Regions from separate parts of the Homo sapiens genome. Here region 1 is linked to region 2. Evidence: promoter capture Hi-C in human tissues and cell types (Jung and others, 2019). All regions are on one chromosome and are shown on one strand. Each heading gives the region's core, a stretch centred on a gene start or on the middle of the fragment in contact. The rest is flanking DNA. Distances are from core to core; before and after follow the strand shown. Region 1 overlaps AKAP7 (A-kinase anchoring protein 7). Region 2 holds the start of ARG1 (arginase 1).

Evidence for each region. The method cuts DNA at HindIII sites, captures the fragments that hold promoters and counts their contacts. A contact is called where the count stands out against the background at its distance.
Region 1: a fragment that was not itself captured here is called in contact with the fragment with the promoter of ARG1 in region 2 in 4 of the 25 tissues and cell types used here (H1 embryonic stem cells, dorsolateral prefrontal cortex, hippocampus and 1 more).

The regions. Positions count from the first base shown.
Region 1 is chr6:131,245,506-131,249,526 of GRCh38, forward strand. All of the region lies in intron 7 of AKAP7 (A-kinase anchoring protein 7), which reads left to right. Among named protein-coding and RNA genes, the nearest start is that of AKAP7, 110 kb to the left of the region's middle. The HindIII fragment of the contact is 9,498 bases long and covers 1-4,021 here.
Region 2 is chr6:131,571,138-131,575,169 of GRCh38, forward strand. It overlaps ARG1 (arginase 1), which reads left to right and starts at 2,089. Exons shown (of 8, transcript NM_000045.4): 1 at 2,089-2,202. The coding sequence starts at 2,146. It also overlaps a transcript of MED23 not described here. RefSeq lists an enhancer at 1,555-2,056. The HindIII fragment of the contact is 11,485 bases long and covers 1-4,032 here.

The sequences.
Region 1 (4,021 bases), core at 947-3,446, 330 kb before region 2:
TACTGGGTATGTCCATCCGATTTTCTTCAGGCCCAGAATAATTGTTTGTCTTTTTGGTACCCAGTGGCAACATAAAAATTGGAATGTATTCCAAAACATCCCAATTTCCACAAGTTATGTTTCCACGAATTGTCAAGCACTTCTTGAACTTAACATACATTTTCACTGAAATTGTGACATTTCTTGGCATAACAGTTTCCATGAGTGGGCTACCAGCTGTGTAATGAAATCTTTCTAAATTGTCTCTTTTATAGTTAAAGGTATGTCTCGTCTCCTAAGGCTTGGTTCCAAAATTTAGAAGGATAAAGTGGTTTTTCTCTTTCTTTATGCTTCATCATTTAATGTCCTCTTTTCTCTCCTCTCTTTTGAATACAAGATATTTACCATGTTTTTCCTTCTCATGTGTCTCTGCAAGTTGTCAGACTCAAATTTCCTTTAATTAGTGAGTTGGAAGCCTCAGAAGATTGGGAATTTGTACAGTTTTGGTAAGAATTGATAATTTGCATAGTTTTGTAGAGTCAGAATCTTACAGCAAGGTTTGCTTTTTATTATGACTCAGACTTTTCCATGAGGTTTCTCAGAAGTCCAAATATATATATATATATATATATATGTTCAGTTATAGGTAGAAAAAGATGCTAACCAACAGAGAATAGAGCTTTTGGTCATAGTTAAGAATTATCTTTTTCCATTAGAGACAATAATCAGAGCTGACAGTTAAAGTACATGGACAAGAGGCAGCTGCCACCCACCTCATACTTTTTAGTTTTATTGCTGCCATTTTAAACAATTGTAATAAAAAGCCCAAAATATGATAGCAAATATAGGCAACTGTCCTAACCGTGATTGGTCTGTAGCCAGGCCTGGGAGAAAAGAAAGCATGGAAAGGTTATGGTTTTAAGTTTATGAACATAGTATCATATCAGATATTTTTCCTCATCAAGGTTAACCTTCTTTTTTAAATCTTACAGTAGACCTCCATATGCTACTGAGAAGAGTGTTAATTCCCTAATAAAAGGTCATGAATATTGTCAGGGATTATGTTTGTGAATGGTCCAAGTTGCTATTTTTCCTGGAAGATGAATGTGTTCAGGGGCCATTCTGCTATTTCTGTGCTCTTAATTGAGTCGTTTTTCCAAGATGTGGCAGGCAACAGTGCTAGGCTCCAGCCCCAAAAAGGGTCTATCTTTAGGTCCTTTGTTTTGAAATAGGATTATATTACTCTAGCAGCATTAGTAAAGGGATTTGATGGCAAAACATGAGGAACCAAGGCAAGATTTTGATAGAGCTTGGTTAAATAACATTTTTCTGCATAATATTTTGAAATTGTGGTATGCTGTTTCATATTGTATATAGCTGAGTCTACACACAAATTGTGTTTAATAATACAGAACTCTGGATCAAATGCTTAGGGTTTGTAGAGCCAGACAGATTGAGTTCAGATCCCCTTATTGTCAATACTCTCCAAAAGATTTCACCCAAGTTACTTTGCTGAGCTTACGTTTTTCACCTGTAAAATGGGGATAGTAATACCACCATCTTCAGAGAGCTGTCTTAGAGATTAAATGAATGAGTAAACTCAAGTGCCTGGTGTTATGTGTCCAGTAAATGTTAGGTTTTAGAATTCTTATCTTGAATTTCTCCATTGTTTTCTATCTTTCATTATGGTTAATTCACTTAATGCTTATGAAAAAGCCTCTAACATTATCTAGCTCCCCTTCATTCATGCAGAATATCTTGATAGTTAATGACACATTTCATATGTATATATATATATATATATATATATATATATATATATATATATATGTTTTTTTTTTCTTTTTTTTTTTTTTTCCGAGATGGAGTCTCTCTCTGTCACCCAGGCTGGAGTGCAGTGGCATGATCTCAGCTCACTGCAACCTCCACCTCCCAGGCTCAAGTGATTCTTCTGCCTCAGCCTCCCGAGTAGCTGGGACTACAGGCGTGCACCACCATGCCTGGTTAATTTTTGTATTTTTAATAGAGGCGGGGTTTCACTATGTTAGGCTGGTCTTGAACTCCTGATCTCGTGATCCACCCACCTTGGCCTCCTGAAGTGCTGGGATTACAGGCATGAGCCACCGCGCCTGGCCATATTTTATTTCTTTTATAGAGACAGGGTCTCACTCGGTCACTCCTGCACTCAGGCTGGAGTACAGTGGTATGATCATAGCTCACTATAACCTTGAACTCCTGGGCTCAAGCAATCCTCCTGCTTCAGCCTCCTGAGTAGCTAGGACTAAGGCATGTGCCACTATGCCCAGCTAATTTTTAAAATTTTTTTGTAGAGATGGGGTCTCACTGTGTTACCCAGGCTGGTCTCGCAGTCTTGGCCTGAAGTGATTCTCTCACCTTGGCCCCCCAAAGTGCTGGCATTATAGGCATGAGCCATGGTGCCTGTCCCTATTCTTAATTGCACATTTTCAGAAGCAGTGCCAACAGGGAATGGTTAATAATAAAGTTAAGTTGGTAGGATTTATTGCACGAACATTATCCTCCTGGGCTCTGAGTTTGAGTAGAGGGCCTTTTTGTTTGGAGGCCAGATATATAAGCATTAACTCAAGATGGCAGCTAGTAGGGCACAAAATTGGAAGAGCAGGAGGCAAGATTACTACCTGGTGCTAGAAAGACTGAGGTGCATATAAATACAGCCATCAGACAATCTGTTCTCTTCTTCCCCTCCCCATCAAATACTATTTTGCAATGCAAATTAAAAGCTTTATAATGAACTTACCTGAATTACAGATAAAGATATCAAAACTCTGACCAGGAGGCATGAGTTTCATAACTGTTAATACCTGACATCTGGGATTTAAACCCATGGTTTCCTGACTCTAAAGGTTTTATCACTATACTGATGCTGGTGATTGGGAAATGCCAGGAGTTACTAATTTTCCTCAGTGAAGAACGTTCCCTGCAAATACATCTTCACTGAACACAAAAAGTAATGTTTAGGATAATTGTTCACTGGTTGTTAGGCTATTTCCTTTGTTATTTTGATCACAAAATCATATAATGCTAGTACTGTAGAGGATCCTAATATGCCTACTGCCTTATTTTTGGGTGAAGAAACTGAGGTCCAGAGAGGACCAAGGGCTTCTCTGGTGTTTCCTAGCTGGGTAGTGGCAGTGTTAAGGCTGGGAAGAACCACATTCTGTGTCACGTCTCCAGTGTTCAAAATTTGCTGTAGGTTCTGATGTTTCCATTTTTAGGGTTACAGGCCATTTATTTGCTTTCTGGTCTTAATAAGGTTTATATTATTGCTTTTAGGACTATTTTACATTTATATACAAAATCATTTTATATTTTAAAACATACACCTGTATTCACTCATGTATTGGTGAATTTGGGGGAATACTGGAAGAGTTTAAAGTTGCTGTTTATTTATAAGTCACTAAGCTGTGAAGAAACCCAACTGGTTATAAAAGTGGAATTTTACTTAAAATTATAATGTTCATTGTATGATAGAATGGAGTGTCCTCTTTAAACCAAGGTAAAATAAGCATCTTTACATTTTAAATAGTCTGAAAAAGTGAAAGCAATTTAAAGACATGTAATTCTCTAAACATTAATTTTAATTATGTGGATAGACCTGCCAGTTTAATCAGTCAGATCTTTGCTTTTTATTCCATAGATCTTCACAATATTTCTAATGTGGAAGTCAAAGTGCATATTAATGTACCTGTGACATATAAAAACAACTGTGTTCCTTGATAACACTCTCAAATACTCTTTGATATTTGCATCAAAATTATCAAAATTCTATCTTTCAGAAAAAAAGCATTGAAAACAGATACTAGTGTTTGCCAGCATCTTCACTGTTTTTTTTAATGCGACAAATATAATTTGTAAAATTGACAATTTTCATTTTTCCATGCTGCAGGCTCTTTTTGTTTGGATGATCATGAAAGTAGGTGGACTATGTTCAGAACCACTTGAGGTGTTCAGCATCATCCTGTTCCCTCTCCTTCTAATCCATGGGAAATAGGTGTGCCTAGCT
Region 2 (4,032 bases), core at 839-3,338:
CCAAGAAAGACATGACAGCCAAGAGATAATGTGCTTTACTTGGATTAAAGGGTGGTGACCAATGGTTCATATGACAGGAAGGCAATCTCAGCTTGGCATACAAAGAACTTTCAGGATGTGAATTTTTCAAAGAAAAAATTCTAGCAATCAAATTTGAAAGTTAGCAAATCTCCATGGATTGATTTATAAATCTAGTAAAAATTCTAGCAAATACTTTTAAGGAATTAGGTTATTCCAACTATAGGAGAATAGAGACCCATAAAAGGTAAATCAATTTTGAAAAAGAAGAGCAAAACAGTTACTCTTGCCTAAACAATGATAAGATGTACCGCAAAACTGTATTGATAAAACCTGATGGATCTGGTGCAGCCATAGGTAAATAAGTCAATGGAACAGAAGAAAGAGTTTAGTGACAGACAGCACTCCAATCAATTGCAAAATGAATGACTATTCAATGGGTGTTGTTGAGGAAACTGATGCATGAATGATAGAGGAAAAACGAGTTGGAAAATTTACATAACATACAAAGATGGATTCAGGAACTAAGTGAGAAAGATAAGCTCTAAGGCAAATGGAAGAAAATGTAAAACTACATACCTACAATTTGATGGGGTGGCAGGAATTTAATAAGACTTCCAAAGCACAAAGCATTCGGGGGAAATTATACAAGTGTCTATTTTAAAATTGAGGATTTTGAGTGATAACATATAAAAAGTTATCAGATTTCTGACAGGTTGGGAAAAGTTATTTGCAATGTCAATGCTATAAGGTTAATATCTAGGCAATATGAGGAATACCACAAGTAAATATTTAGGATATACAAGCAAACCCACAAGAAAAAGGTAGGAAACCTATTTGGAAAACAGTCCTATCAAAATGGACCCATGAGACTTTGGTTTCCTCATTTATCCATTCAATAAATATTTATTGAGTGCCTATTATACACCAACACTCTTCTAGGCCCTGGGGATACAGCAGACAAAATTCTCTGACCTCATGGAATTTAAATTCCAAAATGTTCTTTCCCACCAATAGGAAAAAGAAATTAGTTTCTACTAAGTGAATTTTCCCTTTAAATTACAATTACATAATTTTAAAGTCGGAAGGATCTTTAAGGTGCCTTTATTTTAAATTCATACTTTTGTATGGTGACAAATGGTAGCTCAGGGGCATAGAGGTTGACACCTTCCCAGCATTTAGACTATAAGCTCGACGGTTAAGTGGATTCAGAATGGCAGAGACTAAATCCCGACTTTTCTTCTACAGCCTATGTTGGCAACGGGTCTGAGCTTCAGTTTATTCATCAGTATAATGGCACCAATGATGAGACTTCACATAAAATTGGTATAAATATAAATATGGTATTTTGAAACAGAACTGCATCGGACACATGGTAAAAACTCAATGTTAGCTATTTTTATTTCTATACTTTGATTATGATATGATTCTACAATTATTTTCCTGTACACCATACTTCAAAAATGGTAACCTCTCTGGGTTACCAATCAAGTAACTAATTTTTTAAAGTAATCATCAAAAAAGGAAGTTATATACTCTTTATTATATTATACCCTAAAAGTTTATGAAATGTGTCTCATGGATTAACCATTTACCCTCATGTGTGAAATCTCAACTCAGGATTTTAGGGCTGGAAGGGATGTGACAGACGATCTTGCCAAGCCCGGCCCTTCTTCTACAAGGACGTCTTCAGAGATCTGGAGGAGGAAAGGGCCTTGCCCTGAGTTCGCTGAGCCAGAACAATAGGACTTCTTCTGTAGTTGTGAAACTTGTCAGTTGTTGAAGTCAGGTTAATGTCATCTGGCTGGCTTTTTAAAAGGGTGTGAAGTGAGAACATGAATAATTGTCACTTGATTAGAGACCTAGACTCAGAGTTAGGTTACTCCATGTATGAAGTAACCCCATATAGTTACTTCATACATGGAGTAACCATATAGTTACTCCATGTATGAAAAATTGCAAGACTGTTGACTGTCATTCTTTGGTTTAGTGGGTGGAGCCAGCTGTCCTCATTAGATAAAGGTTGTTTATTCAACCCAAGTATAAATGGAAAAAAAAGATGCGCCCTCTGTCACTGAGGGTTGACTGACTGGAGAGCTCAAGTGCAGCAAAGAGAAGTGTCAGAGCATGAGCGCCAAGTCCAGAACCATAGGGATTATTGGAGCTCCTTTCTCAAAGGGACAGGTAAGGAAAAAAGTCTTTCTTTGAATTCCTGGAATTTAGTTGAAAATTTTGGACTTCAAAATTTGTAAGGTGTTATTGTCTAGTTAGTTCAGTTTTCTGATACAATCTGGCCAGGAAATGCATATTTTAAAGTCCTCTCACCATTTTCCAACATTGTATAATTATAGTCACATATCCACTTACTTTTGTGGCTCGTGATCTCAGCCAAGGCTAAATTCATTTGAACCTACAGAATGTTTTCTCATATTTTTTAGGAGAAAATATTTTTCTTTGAATTGAAATGGACTCTTTCTGCATTGTAGCTACTCATTGAGGTTTAGTTGCTCTTGTTGTTTTTGATGTTACTGTGTGTATGTAGAGGAAGAGAGAATTTTAAGAAATACATTTGTTTAGTTATGTAATTAATGCCTAGAAAAATTTAATAGTTTGGTGGTAACCTTCAGGCTTCTTATAATTTGGATAACCTAAATATTATTGTTTCATGCAACTTTGTGAATAATTCATGTTATGTTAGGGTTTTAATGTTTCTATGAAACTGTTCATTCATGGACTAGGTAGAATCCTTTATGTGCCTCACTTGGAAGGGGAAAAAAAGAACAAAAAAAGAAAGAAAATCCTACTGCGGGTTGGCAACTCTAAAAGGATTTTAATGGATTTATGAAACCCCCAGATTTCCTTACAGCCACGAGCTGTGAATCCACACATGCCAGCAACATTGAATACACTTTTTTTTCTGCCTGGGCACACTTATTCTAGTAAAGAGAGTGTGATGACAGAACACCTTAGACTTCAACACGCATCTGTGCTTAAAGAGGATAAAAAACAAAGAACAAAATCAAACAAGACAATGTATGAGTTGAAACTACTAAGGTTGATTTTCTCCAGGTTTCTCAGGATCTGGGCAGCGTTTTGCTTCCTCTTAATTTGGAACCCTTGCTGTGTACTCTGACTTTTTACTGCAAAACAAATTGAGAGAGGCCAGAGGTTAGAGGCCCAAACTGCATTTGGACTGTCAGTAAATACTACTTTGCTTCCCCTGGAAATCCTCCAAAAGTCTCTCCCAAACACAGGGACATTTTGCTGACACAGAAATGTTCCTTTTAAAATCCACACTGTTCTCACCCACTCTTGAACAGGTTATAATAAATATATAATTTAAAAACCTCACAAAAGGGAAGCAAGTGTCCTCCTTCTACCACCCTCCTCCCATTAAAACATGGTCATGAGAATGGAGTTCATTGTCTCATGATTGTAAGGACTAAGAGAGAGAGATTTTTTACACTAAGTCATAGAGTAGAGAGGATAAAATGGCCAACATATAAGTATTTGTCCTCACCTAAAGGAGGTACAAGTTTGACAAATAAGCAAAAGGAAAGGATTAGAGGGCAGATGACTAAAATGTTGAGTCTGAGAAAGGGCTTCATCCCTGTCTCACCTCCTTGAAAGGCTTGCAAGGCAGCGAACAAACAATAAGGTAGGTATTATTTTTACCTTACAGTTGGGTTAAAAAAAAGCCCAGAGAGGTTTGGTAATGTGCTCAACGTCACACAGCCTTGACTGCATAATTCCAGACAAGATAATCTGATTCCAATGCCTATGCCCTTGATTTGCACTGATGTCTCTTCAGACTATTCAACTCCAAAGGCGACCTTATACTTGTGGCCATTTAGGGATTGGGCCCAGCTTAGAAAGTCGGTGGAGCTGACAAAGCAATTTCCAAAGTGGGCAGATAGAGCAAGCAAGAGGAAAGCCCAATCATGAGAAGCCATTTGAATAAAACAAATAAAAAAGAATTCTAGAAAATTTAATGGCTGTGTTATAGCAAATATA